Linked DNA regions of Homo sapiens: all the other regions are linked to region 5. The links are contacts of gene promoters, found by promoter capture Hi-C in human tissues and cell types (Jung and others, 2019). All regions are on one chromosome and are shown on one strand. Each heading gives the region's core, a stretch centred on a gene start or on the middle of the fragment in contact. The rest is flanking DNA. Distances are from core to core; before and after follow the strand shown. Region 1 overlaps SAE1 (SUMO1 activating enzyme subunit 1). Region 2 holds the start of BBC3 (BCL2 binding component 3). Region 3 overlaps SAE1 (SUMO1 activating enzyme subunit 1). Region 4 overlaps SAE1 (SUMO1 activating enzyme subunit 1). Region 5 holds the start of AP2S1 (adaptor related protein complex 2 subunit sigma 1).

The links. The method cuts DNA at HindIII sites, captures the fragments that hold promoters and counts their contacts. A contact is called where the count stands out against the background at its distance.
Region 1: a fragment that was not itself captured here is called in contact with the fragment with the promoter of AP2S1 in region 5 in 1 of the 25 tissues and cell types used here (dorsolateral prefrontal cortex).
Region 2: a contact is called between the fragment with the promoter of BBC3 here and the fragment with the promoter of AP2S1 in region 5, in 4 of the 25 tissues and cell types used here (adrenal gland, dorsolateral prefrontal cortex, small bowel and 1 more).
Region 3: a contact is called between a fragment that was not itself captured here and the fragment with the promoter of AP2S1 in region 5, in 4 of the 25 tissues and cell types used here (dorsolateral prefrontal cortex, hippocampus, psoas muscle and 1 more).
Region 4: a contact is called between a fragment that was not itself captured here and the fragment with the promoter of AP2S1 in region 5, in 2 of the 25 tissues and cell types used here (hippocampus and spleen).

What each region holds. Positions count from the first base shown.
Region 1 is chr19:47,141,784-47,144,931 of GRCh38, forward strand. It overlaps SAE1 (SUMO1 activating enzyme subunit 1), which reads left to right. Exons shown (of 9, transcript NM_005500.3): 2 at 1,711-1,822. Among named protein-coding and RNA genes, the nearest start is that of SAE1, 13 kb to the left of the region's middle. The HindIII fragment of the contact is 6,241 bases long and covers 1-3,148 here.
Region 2 is chr19:47,229,900-47,233,042 of GRCh38, forward strand. BBC3 (BCL2 binding component 3) reads right to left here and starts at 1,300. Exons shown (of 4, transcript NM_014417.5): 1 at 1,030-1,300. RefSeq lists silencers at 458-1,177, 1,318-1,547 and enhancers at 1,688-1,807, 2,517-3,140, 2,567-2,836. The HindIII fragment of the contact is 48,720 bases long and covers 1-3,143 here.
Region 3 is chr19:47,208,623-47,211,495 of GRCh38, forward strand. SAE1 (SUMO1 activating enzyme subunit 1) reads left to right here. Exons shown (of 9, transcript NM_005500.3): 9 at 537-2,014. The coding sequence ends at 629. Among named protein-coding and RNA genes, the nearest start is that of MIR3190, 17 kb to the right of the region's middle. RefSeq lists enhancers at 369-1,118, 2,110-2,404. The HindIII fragment of the contact is 3,338 bases long and covers 1-2,873 here.
Region 4 is chr19:47,164,683-47,167,837 of GRCh38, forward strand. The region is part of intron 5 of SAE1 (SUMO1 activating enzyme subunit 1); the gene reads left to right. Among named protein-coding and RNA genes, the nearest start is that of SAE1, 35 kb to the left of the region's middle. The HindIII fragment of the contact is 4,260 bases long and covers 1-3,155 here.
Region 5 is chr19:46,849,583-46,852,774 of GRCh38, forward strand. AP2S1 (adaptor related protein complex 2 subunit sigma 1) reads right to left here and starts at 1,264. Exons shown (of 5, transcript NM_004069.6): 1 at 1,182-1,264. The coding sequence starts at 1,184. RefSeq lists an enhancer at 1,279-1,588. The HindIII fragment of the contact is 18,087 bases long and covers 574-3,192 here.

The DNA of each region.
Region 1 (3,148 bases), core at 502-3,001, 290 kb after region 5:
TTCTTAGTTATTACTAAATCCTTTTCAGTATGAATAATACATTTGCTGCAGAATTATTAATGAGTTTGGTTACATGATGCAGCCCAAGATCTTGATGAGTTGTTTCATAATACATGATGTAAAGTCTGTATTTCCTTTTTGAAATCTGAAAAAATTGTGACTCTGAAATACTTCTGGTTCAAGAGATTTCAGATAAGATATAGTTGACCTATTCTGCTTCCTACTGACCTCAGAGAAGTCTTGGGATGGCCTGACCTCTGATTGCCTTTTTTCAGCCTCATCTTCTGTCACTTTACAGATTTAAAAAGCTAAAAACAAGGCTGGGCACGGTGGCTCATGCCTGTAATCCCAGCACTTTGGGAGGCTGAGGCAGGTGGATCACTTGAGGTCAGGGGTTCGAGACCAGCCTGAACAACATGGTGAAACTCCGTCTGTACCAAAAATACAAAAACTAGCCAGGCGTGACAGTAGGCGCCTGTAATCCCAGCTACTCGGGAGGCTGAGGCAGGAGAATTGCTTGGACCTGGGAGGCGGAGGTTGTAGTGAGCTGAGATCACGCCACTGCACTCCAGCCTGGGCAACAGAGCGAGACTCTGTCTTTAAAAAAAAAAAAAAAAAGGTAAAAGCAATTCCTGTGTACATGCTCTTTTCATGCCACCATGTGTTTTGCTTGTGTGTTATACTTAACTAGTGCCTCTTCTCAGCACCTCTTCTGCTGTCATGCTAGTTTGAGCCACCATCATCCTCCCTCACCTTAACTGTGACATCTTCCTACCCCCATGGCTTTCCATCATGCCTCGAAGAAAATCCAGAATCCTTCCATTGCATGTAAGAGCCTTCATGATGTGGCCCCTTGTTCCAACTTTTCAGCCTCTCTGTCATTCCTGTCCCTAGAACATGCCAAGCACTCCTGCTTCAGGGCTTTTGCATTTGCTGTTTTCTCTATCTGGAATGTTCTGCTGCCAAATATCTGTGTGTTTGTCCTTTATTTCATTTTGATTTTTGCTCATATGGCATCTCCTCAGAAAGGCTTGTATGATTTCTGTCTCAAATAGCGTTCTCCATCATTCTTGATTCTTGTCACACTTGATTTTCATCACTTTTTCACATATTATGTATCTATTTGTTTATCTGTCTCCTACTTTTTCATGAGGGCAGGGACTATGTCTGATTCACCGCCTTATTTCCACACCATAGAAGGATGCCTGGCATAGTTGGTACTCAATAAATATTTGTTGAATGAATTGTTTTGTGCAGTATGGATTAGAGCCTGTCTCTTTCCTAGATTCGAGGTGTGATGCCTCAATGCAGTTAGAACCAAAATGATTTTTTTTTTTTTGAGACGGAGTCTCACTCTTGTTGCCCAAGTTGAAGTGCAGTGGCATGATCTCGGCTCACTGCAACCTCCGCCTCATGGTTTCAAGTGATTCTCCTGCCTCAGCCTCCCAAGTAGCTGAGATTACAGGCGCCTGCCACTACGCCCAGCTAGTTTTTGTATTTTAGTAGAGACGGGGTTTCACCGTGTTGGTCAGGCTGGTCTCGAACTCCTGACCTCAAGTGATCCGCCTATCTCAGCCTCCTAAAGTGCTGGGATTACAGGCATGAGCCACCGTGCCTGGCAAACCAAAATGATTTGTGTATTTTTTGTTCTTCTGTGATTCTGCAAGCTCACTGTTCTGTATCATCAGGTTAACAATGTTTGTCTTACAGGCTGCGGGCCTCTCGGGTGCTTCTTGTCGGCTTGAAAGGACTTGGGGCTGAAATTGCCAAGAATCTCATCTTGGCAGGAGTGAAAGGACTGACCATGCTGGATCACGAACAGGTGCGCTGTTGTGAGCTCATTCCTCCCCTGCTCTGGCTCCCCTTTCCAGCATGAAGATCTGCAGATTTTGTGAGTTCCTCCTTGTGCCTTAAGGGCTGTGAAAGGAGGGCTAACATTAATAAACCATTGCCTCTGGAGACTGAAGGTGCTATTGTTGGGTTTGAATTCTAGCTCCACCACATCTAGCTGGATGAGCAGTAGAGACTCACACCCCCTCATTGAGCTTGCCTGCCTGTAAAATGGGGTTAGTAATATCTCCCTTGGTGGTTGCTTGTGAGGAGGTGTAGAGAAGTGTTTTTCCAATTTGTGCCTAAAAATGACCTGAGTGACTAACTGAAAATGCAGAGTGGCCTGGAGGCTTCGTGGTGCCCTAGCTTTCACCCCTAGTGATTCTCATTTAGGTCTGAGGCGAGCTCAGGAGTATGTGCATTTAAAAGGTGTTTTAGGGCTGGACGCAGTGGCTCATGCCTGTAATCCCAACACTTTGGAAGGCTGAGGCAGGCGGATCATCTGAGGTCAGGAGTTTGAGACTAGCCTGGCCAACATGGCAAAACTCTGTCTGTACTCAGTATACAAAAATTAGCCAGGCATGTTGGTGTGCACCTGTAATCCCAGCTACTCGGGAGGCTGAGGCACAAGAATCGCTTGAATCTGGGAGGTGGAGTTTGCAGTGAGCTGAGATGGCACCACTGCACTCCAGCCTGGGCAACAGAGTGAGACTTTGCCTTAAAAAGAAATAAATTAATGAAAGGTGTTTCAGGAGATTATGATTTAGATGGTCCACAGACATCACTTTAAAAAACACTGGATCAGGCCAGGCACAGTGGCTCATGCCTGTAATCCCAGCACTTTGGGAGGCTGAGGCGGGCAGATCATGAGGTCAGGAGATCGAGACCATCCTGGCTAGCACGGTGAAACCCCATCACTACTAAAGACACAAAAAATTAGCAGGGCTTGGTGGCGGGCGCCTGTGGTCCCAGCTACTCGGGAGGCTGAGGCAAGAGAATGGCGTGAACCTGGGAGGCGGAGCTTGCAACGAGCCGAGATCATGCCACTGCACTCCAGCCTTGGCAACAGAGTGAGACTCCGTTTCAACAACAACAACAACAAAAACAAACAAAAACAAACAACACTGGATCAGAGAGAATGTGGGCAGACTGCTTTGTATAGTGCTTGAACCTAACAAGTATCCAGTAATTAGGAATAATGATCTGACATGCTGTTTGTTTGTTTGTGTGTTTTTGCGAGACGAGTCTTGCTGTGATGCCCAGACTGGAGTGCAATGGCGCAATCTCCGCACACTGCAACCTCCGCTTCCCGGGCTCA
Region 2 (3,143 bases), core at 50-2,549, 380 kb after region 5:
ACAAACGCTGGGCAAAAGACACATGCCCCGGAGATACAGAGACGGCCTCAGCCAAGACAGAAACACACAGGCAAGACACAAGCACACATATCGCACGCTCGGGCAAGACACACACATAAACACACAAACAGCTCACTCCAGCAACACACACACACTACAACCTCCACACCCCAGCACACGCAGGCACCACAGACCCCCAGTATCATCCCGGAACAGCACACACAGACAACTCTCACCGACAACACACGCAGGTCCACCCACCCCACAAGCAGGGCACCCACAGACAGAACCCCACACAAACAGGCGCGGGGACTCACGCAGACACCCCGACGGGTCAGAAACCCCAACATTCCTCTGGATCGACACCACCACTCCCTGCAGAACCCAGCACAAACTCGGAGCCAGACACGCGCACACACCCAGGCGAGACACCTGCAGATCCACAACCCCGCACACGCGCGCTCCCACGGCGGTCCCAGACACCCCCCTCCGCTGTCACAGCCCCCCCCACCGCCGCCACGTGCGCCCGCCCCGCCCGCCAGGCGAGCGCGGGGCCAATAACCGGCTGTTGCTGGGGCGCAGCCCCCGCCCGCAGGAGCCGCAGACTCCACGGCCCGCGAGCCGCCCCCCGTCGCCGCCCCCAGCGGGCGCGCGCCCTGGGTGTGGCCGCCCCTCCGTGCCGCCCCCCCGCCCCTCCCGGACTTTGGGGGCTGGGGCACCCCTGGGGTCGACCCTCTTCCCCGGGGCCGCACTGGCCGCCAGGGGGCGCTGCCGAGCCCGCACCCCATTGTTTGTAAACAAACCCGCCAGACCGCCGAGGCACCTGTGCGCCCAGACCGGCGCCCCAACGCCGAGCCGCCTCTCACCCGGCGACCCTGGCCCAGGGTCCCTCGCGGGGTTTGGAGAGGCGCGGTGTGGGGAGGCAGGGCGCCCACACTGCTCTCCGCCTGCACTCCTGTCACCTCCTCCAGGGAGTCCACCCGGCCTGGCCGATCGCCGCCGGAGAGGATTCGGGGCGCGCACACTCACCCCGGGGGCATGAACACGCCGGAGGGGGCGGCGGTGGGGGGCGGGCGGCTTCCTTCAGGAGGGCGCGCCCGCCGAGCGCCGCTCTCCGCGGCGGCTGCTGCTGTGGCTGTCGCTGCTGCTGCCGCTCTAACTGCAGTGGCGGCTGCTGTGGCTGTGGCTGCTGCTGCTCCCCGGGCCGCAGGCGCGTCCGCGTCGTGGCCGCTGCTGGGATCGCTGGTGCCGCCGCCGCCGCCGCCAGGCGCCCGCTCGCATGTGGCTCGCGCCGCGTCTCAGGCCGCCCGGCGGATCCCGGGCCCGCTCCAAAGCCGCCCCGCCCCGCCCCGCCCCGCCCCCGCCCGGCGGGTCCCACGCCCCGCCCCCGCGTGACGCTACGGCCCCGCCCGCCCGCCGCGGACAAGTCAGGACTTGCAGGCGCGCGCCGCGCCCCCCCCTACCTCCGCGCCGGGGGTTTCCCTGCAGCGGGGGACGGGGCAGGGCCTAGCCCAAGGCAAGGAGGACCCAGGCGCTGTGCGGCGGGGTGTGGGGAGATCGCCCAGACACCGGGACAGTCGGACACACACACTGACTGGGACCCACAGATCCACACCCCCAGCGATGCGTACACAGACCGACCGACGGGCGTTCCAGGGTCCACAAAGTCACGTGCAGGCAGAGCCCAGAGGATGTACTCACAGACACAAGGCCACAGTCTCGCAAATCCACACCATGGACAGGGGCATGAGCACACACACTCACATACTGATGGGGCTCACACTTACACACACCCAGACGGAAATGCACAGACTCACTAACAGGGTCCCCTGGACAAGCAGACGGACACAATGACAGGGCCACACACAGTTGCAGAAACACCCACACTGATGATCACACCTGGGCCCACAAACTGTGTTCACAAACAACCCTACCGAACAGGCACCCACACCACACACACGGTGGTGCAACCACACAGACATAGGCGGAGTGCTTATCAGGAAACACAAACTTGCTGATAGGCACAGGGGACACACACATACACACAGACACCTGTTACAGGGATACCTGGATACACGGCCAAATCCAAATCACACTCCCACAGGGACATACACAAATGCACTCACACAATTTCACAGCTAACACATTAAAACTATCAGAAAGTGACATTCGCCCGACACGGTGGCTCATGCCTGTAATCCCAGCACTTTGGGAGGCCAAGGTGCGTGGACTGCCTGAGGTCAGGAATTCGAGACCAGCCTGACCAACATGATGAAACCCCATCTCTACTAAAAATACAAAATTAGCCGGGCGTTGTGGCGCATGCCTGTAATCCCAGCTACTTGGGAGGCTGAGGCAGGAGAACTGCTTGAACCCGGGAGGCGGAGGTTGCAGTGAGCCGAGATAGTGCCATTGCACTCTAGCCTGGGCAACAAGAGCAAACTCCGTCTTAAAAATAAAAATAAAGGAAAGAAACTGACATTCAGAGACACAAACCAAATCAGACATAGAAGAAACTGACCACCCACACATGTCACAAAGTCACACCTGTGACAGCTTCTTGCTAACTGGCCCACTGCACACACGTCGGAGCATGCACACCTGGCCACACTCACCACAAATCTGGCAGGGGACCCACGTCGTGGAAGCAGCCCTGGGCACCTGGCATGGACATGCCTGGGCAGACCCCATGCCAAATTTCATCCTGTCTCATAGCTTTCCATTCCGTTTCTTTTTCAGTTTCTCATTGTTACTTCCTGCCCTGCTCTGGTTTGGTGAGTTTTGTCCTTCCTTTTTCCAAAGCCGTGGATTCCTGTCTCCTCTACACTTTCCATCCTTACTGGGTCTCACCCAATCGCAATCGCCTCACCAGAGTGACTCACCTTCCAGTGCCTAGTGTGGGGCTGGCTGAGTAAGGATGTCAGACTTCTCAAACTTGACTGCCTCCAAGTACACACTCTTAGCTCCCCCAAGAGATGCAGGTAATCTATATCTCACGTGAAATCTCCCCATTTGCAACATTGGGAACTCCTCAGCTTTCCTCCCTCTTTCACTTTCCCTCCTCTTTCGCTTTCCCCGATTATTCATTGTCCCTTCCTTCTTCCTGGTGTTTTCCAAACTGTGGGTCATGAGTAAACCATGGA
Region 3 (2,873 bases), core at 123-2,622, 360 kb after region 5:
CCGTGTTGGCCAGGCTGGTCTCCAACTCCCAACCTCAGGTGATCCGCCCACTTCAGCCTCCCAGAGTGCTGGGATTACAGGCGTGAGCCACTGCGCCCCACCTATTTTAGTTTTCATATAGACGGGATCTCACCATGTTGCACAGACTGGTCTTGAATTCCTGGGCTCAAGTGATTCTCCCACCTCAGCCTCCCAAAGTGCTGGGATTACAGGTGTGAATGTGCCTGGCCCTGGCCTGTTTTACATTTTTGAGATACATAGTTTAACCCAGGCAAATACATTTCTTAATCTCATGTTAGGAAAATAAGGTAATGTTTGGAGAGGTTAAATAATCTCCCCATGGACACACAGCTTGTAAGGGACAGAGCAAGGAGATAGGACAATCAAAATTGTCTCCAGACATTGCCAAATAGCCCTTTGGGAGCAAAATCGACCCCAGTTAAGAACCACTGCCCTAGACTGCTTTTAGAATTTTTTTTTCCCTCTATTCCTCTTAAAGCACTTGAGCTAAACCCTCTTTTCATTTTTCTCCCCAGGCCCTGTCTCAGCGGGACCCTCCTCACAACAACTTCTTCTTCTTCGATGGCATGAAGGGGAATGGGATTGTGGAGTGCCTTGGCCCCAAGTGAACTCAAGATTTGGCAGCCCCAGAGATGCCAACTGCAGCATGCCCACCTGTATTCCCTGTCCCCTTCCTTCATGAAGGCATCTCCAGGCAAGGAAAACTGAAGTCATTGGCCCGATACAAAACATTTCCTGCAACGAAGGAGGTGGTGCCGACGTGCTGCTTCCCATCACCAGCAGCTGCTCGACAAGGGGCGCAGGGTGGCTGTCTTTGTTCCAGCACTGTTCAGGCTGCCTGTCATCCCGGGCCTGCCAGCTCCCCTGAGTGATGAGCACTTCCAAGCACCCCTCTGCCCTTTCTCTGTCCTTATGCTGTCCCGGCCTCGCCAGCCCTCTGGGGCATTGTGGGAGATGCCTGCCAGGAATGAGCAAGCTCTGTTGCTCGGGAGCCTCTTGTCACCTTCTTGGACTTATTCCCCACCTGATACCTTATAGAGAAAAGTGTGAATTCAGGTGGAGAGTAGGCCCAGGCCCCATGAGGCACCAGTGGAAGCACAGCTCCAAGTTCAGACAGGTGCCCTTAGAGAGGAAAACCATGACAGGCAAATGCATTTCCTCTGGAGTTTGAGACCCTGACAAACAACAGGTGGCATCTGGTGTGCTGTTCTTGAGTTTTCGTTTAGGATTAGTTGAGTTCCAGCTGGGTTTTGGGAGAAAGGAGATGCTACCAAGTCTTGGATGTTAGGGCGAGACCCTGCAAGTTGAGTATTAGAGAGCTTGTCTTTCAAGGCAGGTTCCTGGGGCTTCAGGGCTAGGAGGGAGGAGCCTGCCCTTTTAACAGAACCCCAGTCACATGCGGCTCAAGTCACTCAGAGGCTGTTGCATTTCAGGGCTATGTTGGTCCTTTGTTTACCTCCTAAACCACAGCTGTTTGTGTTTCACATATGTTGTGAATTTTCCTTGGTTCTTTTTAAAGGAATGATAATAAAGTTACTTGCTTTAGGATTTGCTTGTTTTTCTTCCACTTCAGAAGCTTCTGAGAGGGAATGGGATGATCCTACCAGTTGCCTTTTCAGACCTGAGGCTCTAACTCAAGAGATTCCTCCTCTCCCTCACCATTCCTGCCACCATTTTTTCTGGGTGATGCAGCAAGAGTTAAATTGTTCACATTCTAGAATGTGTAGAAGCTTCTGGCTCCAGTTGTCTAATGGATAATTCAGCTAAATAGTGGCTATTTTCAGTGGCAAGAATTATAATAATAAAGGGAAGTCAAAAGTGATGCTTCATATGCCCCAAGTGCCACAGCCGCTACGGGTCAGAGCTTTTATTGGAAGACCAGGTTTGCCTTGATGCAGCCAAAGTGCGTTCCAGTTCACCCCACTCTTGCTTGTGTTTCTTCTTTATGTAAATTGTGTGATGTTTCAATAAATCAGTCTCTTTCCTATTCTGATCCTGCAGCAGTTAGTCGGGGAGAAAAGTGGTCTTCACTACAGAAGGGCCTCTGTTCCTCAACCCTGCATCACCTGCTCCCGCCGGAGGTGAGACAGGGGCTGCATTTCGGAAAGGATCCGTGTCTCGCCACCTTTAGTGCAAGTCAGTGGCGTCAGGGTCAGCAGTTACATTGCTGCATGAATTTCACGTGGTCTTTAAATTCTGAGCTAATTATACTCTTGACTGTAATGTGCAGCCTTGGTCACAAGGGGGAGCAGGTGGGTCTGGATTGATAAAAACAAAATTGTAGAATCGTCCCGGAAGCTTCAAACTTTTCCACCCTGTACCTCTAACGGCAGAGATTAAGTCACCCAGAGGACCCCTCAGGAATCGAGGGGAAAGCTGCCAGCCCCAGGCAAGAAATGTCTAGTTTCTACAAATTTCATAAACTGCCACATGATGTTTGTATTAATCATAAAAATGAAGAAAAAAAGGCCAGGCGTGGTGGCTCACGCCTGTAATCCCAACATTTTGGGAGGCTGAGGCGGACGAATCACGAGGTCAGGAGTTTGAGAGCAGCCAGGCCAACGTGGTGAAACCCTGTCTACTAAAATTACAAAAATTAGCCGGGCATGGTGGCGGGTGCCTGTAATCTCAGCTACTGGGGGAGGCTGAGACAGGAGAATCACTTGAACCTGGGAGGCGGAGGTCGCAATGAGCTGAGGTCGCACCACTGCACTCCAGCCCGGGTAACAGTGTGACACTCCATCTCAAAATCTGCAGTCAGTCAGGCATGGTGGGAGGCTGTGGCGGGAGAAGCACTTCAGCCCAAGAGTTCGTGACCAACTTGGGAAACAAAGCAAGACCCCATCTCCACA
Region 4 (3,155 bases), core at 525-3,024, 320 kb after region 5:
CTGTCACCCAGGCGGGAGTGCAGTGGCATGATCTCAGCTCACTGCAACCTCTGCCTCCCAGGTTCAAGCGATTCTCCTGCCTCAGCCTCCTGAGTAGATGGAACTACAGGCACCTGCCACCACGCCCAGCTAATTTTATTTTTGTATTTTTAGTAGAGAGGGGGTTTCACCGTGTTAGCCAGGATGGTCTCGATCTCCTGACCTCGTGATCCGCCTGCCTCAGCCTCCCAAAGTGCTGGGATTACAGGCGTGAGCCACAGTGCCCGGCTAATTTTTGTATTTTTAGTAGAGACGGAGTTTCACCATATTGGCCAGGCTGGTCTCGAACTCCAGACCTTGTGATCCACTCACCTTGGCCTCCCAAAGTGCTGGGATTACAGGCATGAGCCAAGTCTTTTTTTTTTTTTTTTTTTTTTTTTGAGACGGAGTCTTGCTCTCTTGCCCAGGCTGGAGTACAGTGGTTTGATTGTGATCTCGGCTCACTGCAACCTCAGCCTCCTGGGTTCAAGCGATTCTCCTGTCTCAGCCTCCCAAGTAGCTGGGATTACAGGCACATGCCACCATGTCCGGCTAATTTTTATATTTTTAGTGGAGACGGGGTTTCACCATGTTGGCCAGGCTGGTCTCGAACTCCTGACCTCAGGTGGTCTACCCACCTTGGCCTCCCAAAGTGCTGGGATTATAGGTGTGAGCCACCGCACCCGGCCTTGTTATTAGTCTTAACTAGATTGTTGATTGAAGTCCTTAAGCCCAGAAATGTATGTGAAGGATGGTGGAGAAGAGTGGCTCAGGCATTCTAGGCAGAGGTATTCTTGAGCTGAGGAAGTGGAGGAGAGGAGGTATGTAAGTTACCTGTTTTCAGGGGTTCATTCCAGTGGATAGTGGATGCCACTCCCTGGCAGACACTGTGGGTGCCTCACCTGAAAGACTCCTGATTCCCTGAAGGCATTGTCGGGTGTATTTTTTCTTTATAAGCGTAATGCCAGTGGAGTGGGTAAGACAGGTACCACCTTTTGCATCTGCTGCTACAGATTAGGCAGCTTGGTTAAGTTTTGTTTTGTTTTTAATTGTTATGAGTTAGTTTGAACCAAAAGGATTGTTAAGTGGAGTGTAAGAAGCACTGAATAACTACTGTTATCTGAGAGGAGTAGTAAAGACCAGGGCCACTGGGCAATCCCAGAGGCATTAGGAATTTGTGGCCTTTCCCTTTAGAGCATTGTCATTATGTGTATCTGCATCTCTGCATTCCAACTTTCACATTTTCAGTTCCCAGGAGAGAGAATCTGATTGGCCTGGTTGGGGTCCTGTGCCCACTTCTGGCTGTCACCTGTGGCTTTCTTCCCTCAGTTGTAGACCACACTCTGGATACCTGGGACCCCTGAAATCTCCTGCCCAGACAACCCCAAGCTTCTCAGGACTTTTTGTGGGCTGCTTCCCTGTTCTGCCTGTGCAGTGCAGGCCTTGTCACAATGTCTGAATGCTTAGGCCAGAGACGTGGGGGTTTGGTGAGAAAGGATGAGCTGGGTAGCTACACTCAAGTGCAGAGCCACCAGTATTGTGGGACAGAGCCAGGCATGGGAAGAGAAGTGGGCACGGATGGGGGCCAGCTTTCCCGATGTGCCTTAATCTGGCACAGAACTCCTAAGGAGTGTGAAAATTTCAAATTTGATCCAGGCCTTCCAGGTGGTTATGAAGAAGGCGAGTTTGTCAAGACAGGATAATACAATATACTTCATTTAATAGCTTGTTAGTGTGATTTATAACTAAATATGTAGACATCATATATGGGTCTTCATTCATACTCTTGCCCCAGGCCCTGAAAGTGTTAGCTAACAGGCAAGACCTGCCTGGGACTGAGATTCTAAAACACAACCTCCACCCCCAACTCCGTTTCATCATATAGTAGCCTAACATATTAGTTGGTTCGTTGCTTATAGTCAGGCAAACAACAAAGACTCCGAATTGAGCTCTTGGTAATTTTTGAAACCTGCCTGGTAATACTGTGTTTCCTCATTCTGATGGCATTCCCAGACCATATTGCAAATGACTTGATGTGTATTTTCAGACTTGTTGAGAAGGGCCTGGTGGTCTATATAGCAGGCATAAAATGTCACCAGGCCGACTTCATGACTTATCTTTTGAGGTCAAACAGACCCATTGACCAAAAGATTTGAGGGCAGTGAAAACATCTTGTATACTATCTTTAACAATGGATTTAACTCCTAAAGGAAAGCCACCTAAACATGACTGTTTAATCTTCACTAGCAATTTGAACTTTTTTTTTTTTGAGACGGCGTCTCACCTTGTTGCCCAGGCTGGAGTGTAGTGGTGTGACCTTGGCTCGCTGCAACCTCCACCTCCTGGGTCCAAGTGATTCTGCTCCCTCAGCTTCCTGAGCAGCTGGGATTACAGGTGCCTGCCACCACACCCAGCTAATTTTTTTGTATTTTTAGTAGAGACAGGGTTTCACCGTGTTGGCCAGGCTGGTCTCCAATTCCTGACCTCTAGTGATCCACCCGCCTTGGCCTCCCAAAATGCTAGGATTACAGGTGTGAGCCACCACACCCGGCCTGCGCCCAGATAATTTTTGTATTTTTTTTTTTTTTGAGAGTCTCGCTCTGTCCCCCAGGCTGGGGTGTAGTGGCACGATGGGTTCACGCCATTCTCCTGCCTCAGCCTCCCGAGTAGCTGGGACTGCAGGTGCCTGCCACCACGCCTGGCTAATTTTTTTGTATTTTTAGTAGAGACGGAGTTTCGCCATGTTAGCCAGGATGGTCTCGATCTCCTGACCTTGTGATCTGCCCGCCTTGGCCTCCCAAAGTGCTGGGATTACAGGTGTGAGCCACTGCGCCCAGCCAACAATTTGAACTTTTATCTGTCAAATCTATATGCATCCTTAGCAAGCTTTGTAAACTGCCTGGTAACTGATAGATCTTGGTTCACTTAGCTTCCCAAATTATGCTGTTATCATCTTGTCTCTCTGTTCTTTAAATATCTGGTTGGGAGGGTATGGAGAGAGAGGGAGGAAGAAAGACACCTCTGTAAGTTTGAAATTATTTGCATCCCCCCCACCGCCCACCACCAACCTTTTTAAAATATAGAGACACAGAGTCTATACCACGCCTGGCCTAAAATAATTTTTTTTAGAGACGGGA
Region 5 (3,192 bases), core at 14-2,513:
CCAAATTCCCTTGTATACCTCTCCCTGTTTTCTTCCCATTTGGAATCTCAAGTCCCCTCCGTCCTGAATCTCTGCATCCTCACGCCTCTGCTGTCCCCTCTAGATGCCCCCCAACCTTCCCTGTCTCCAATCCCCCTCCTCTGGAGTTGTTCCCTTTTGACCTCCACTTTCTCAGTCTCAGTTCCCCTCCTTGGGGCCTCAATGGGCTTTTTACTGGTGACATCCCTTGTCCCACTCCCAAGCTTCCTCCCTTCTTCAAAAGGTCACATTTTGCCTCCAAGGACCCTGTTCCTGGAGGAGACTCCGCCCCCGCTCTGACACTCTTTCTCATTCGTTTTCTTTCCCAACTTCCAGCCCAAAGAACCCTTTCCTAGATCCAAAGCCCCAACCTGGGGGATAGGGGCACTCCTAAATCCAATGTTGAGTCTTTGCCCCAACAAAGATTCCTCCCCAGGTCTCACACTTTCAAGCCTACTCCCCACCCCACAAGATCTCTCCTCTTGGAAAGACCTATTCAGTTGCTCCCCATTCTTTCCGAGTGTCCATCTTACCTCCAGGTCCTCTCTCCTTTTACAGCGCTTTCCCAGACCCTTAAGTTTCATTCCCTACAGTTGCCTCCTTTTGGTTTCCTGTGCCAGGTCTCTTCTTGAGATCATCCCTCTCTCACAGGCAGTCTCCTGCCCCTGTCTCAACATCCCCTCTCCACCTGCAATCAGATCCTTGTCTCTAGAGACTCCTCCCATCAAGAAAACCTCCCTCCCCTTTTCCAAGGTCTCGCGTTCTCGTCCCAGCGCTCCCGCCACACTTCCAGAGCGCCTTCCTCTTTCGGACGCCCTCTCCCCACCTCCAATGCCTTCTCGCTACCCACAAGACTGTGTCTCACGAGTTTCCTCTCGTTTCAAAGCTTCCAACCATCTACAACGTTTCCCACCTGCACAGCCCTTTCCCCTTGGAACACCACCCCCAATGCCCGTCGCCGCGAGACCCCTGGTAACCCCCGCGCGCAGAATCACCGCCCTGTGCCCTCCTTCCCGGCCCTGGATCGGTCCCAATCCCCAGAGCCCGCGCCTGACCCAGACCATCCGCGGCAGAGAAGGGACTTGTCAGCGCCCGATCCAGCCTCGGCTATTTACGCGTGGGCCCCCCCTCCGCCAGTCCCCGGCGTAGCGCTCCCCCGTTACCATGGCGACCCCCGTCCAGACCCCAGCGGCCCCGGTCCCGCGGCGACTGGGCAGCTCCGGCTCAGGGTGCAGTTGTAGGGCCCAGAGCTAGAGCGGACTTCCGGTAGAAAAACCCGCCTGCCTTCTCGCGCACAGACCCCTGGGAGTTGTAGTTTCACCAAAGGGGCCAGCCTGGGTGAAGATGGGTGAAGAGTCAGAGCCAGTCCTTTTCCTACCAAACGAGTCAGATCCCAAGTGCATGCTGGGATTTGTGGACAAACATCTTTACAGAGGACTACAATTCCCGAGATGCTGAAGAACCAGCGGTGAAGGCGTTGCATTCAGGGAAATGTAGTTCTCTTAGGTCCCCTCCCCCCACCCAGGGGAGAAGGGCATGCTGGGAATAGTAGTTTTAAATTTTAAAAAACTGTCCTGGGGAGATAGAAAATGTCTTTCCATTCCTCATCCAGTGATTTCTTTAATTTTTTTAAAAATAGAGACAGGGGTCTAGATATATTGCCTAGGTTGATCTCGAACTCAGCTTCAAGCGACCCTCAGCCTTCCAAATCACCAGGATTACAGGCATGAGCCACCACAACACCAAGCCAGTGTTTTGCTTAAAATACGTTGCGTGTGTCTCTCGGGAGACAACAGTTTAAAAGCATAAATTTGAACCGGCCCGGCGCGGTGGCTTACTCCTGTAATCCCAGCACTTTGGGAGTCCGAGGCAGGCAGATCACTTGGTTAGGAGTTCGAGACCAGCCTAGCCAGCATGGCGAAACCCCATCTCTACTAAAAATACAAAAAATTAGCCAGGCATGGTGGTGCGCACCTGTAGTCCCAGCTACTCGGGAGGCTGAGGCAGGAGAATCACTTGAAGCCCGGAGGCAGAGGTTGCAGTGAGCCCAGATCTCGCCACTGCACTCCAGCCTGGGCAATAGAGAGAGACTCCAAAAAAAAAAAAAAATCTCTAGTTTGGCGGGGGCATGATGGCCCATGCTTGTAATCCCAGCACTTTGAGAAGCTGAGGTGGGTGGATCACCTAAGGTCAGGACTTCGAGACCAGCATGGCCAACACGGTGAAACCATTTCTACTAAAAATATAAAAATTAGCTGGGTGTGATGGCAGGTGCCTGTAATCCCAGCAACTCGGGAAGCTGAGGCAGGAGAATTGCTTGAACCTGGGAGGCAGAGGTTGCAGTGAGCCGAGATCACACCATTGCACCCTAGCTGGAATGACAAGAGCGAAACTCTGTCAAAAAAAAAAAAAACCCTCCAGGTCAGCAGTTAGTTTAGTGTTTTTTTGGTGTGTCTTTGTTTTTGCTTTTTTCTGAAAGAGGGTCTCCCTTGGTCACCCAGGCTGTAGCGCAGTGGCATGATCTCAGCTCACTGAAGCCTCAACCTGCTGGGCTCAAGTGATCCTCCCACTTCAGCCTCCCGAGTAGCTGAGACTACATACACATGCCGTCACACCTGGCTAATTTTTTGTACTTTTTGTAGAGACAGGGTCTTGCTATGTTGCCTAGGCTGCTCTTGAACTCCTGAGCTCAAGCGATCCTCCCTCCTCCACCTCCCAAAGTATTGAGATTACAGGCGTGATTTTTTAAATGGCCTTTATTACATTTTAAAAATTATTTTATTTGCCCTATGAGTATGTGTGTATGTTTGTCTAGATCTCTCATTAGGTAGTGAGTTGTTGAGGGCAGGGACCCTGTCTGATAACTGTATCTTCATTACCTAGAACATGACAGATGGTAAGCAGTCAATAAAGTTATTACTATTAGTACTGAGGGGAGATTGGCCCTAATAAGAACAAAGCATGCCAGGCATGGTGGCTCACTCCAGTAATCTCAGCACTTTGGAATGCCAAGGCAGGCAGATCACCTGAGGTCAGGAGTTCGAGACCAGCCTGCCCAACGTGGCGAAACAGCACCTCTAATAAAAATACAAAAATTGGCCGGGCTTGGTAGCACTTGCCTGTAATACCAGCTACTTGGGAGGCTGAGGCAGGAGAAGCACTTGAACCCTGGAG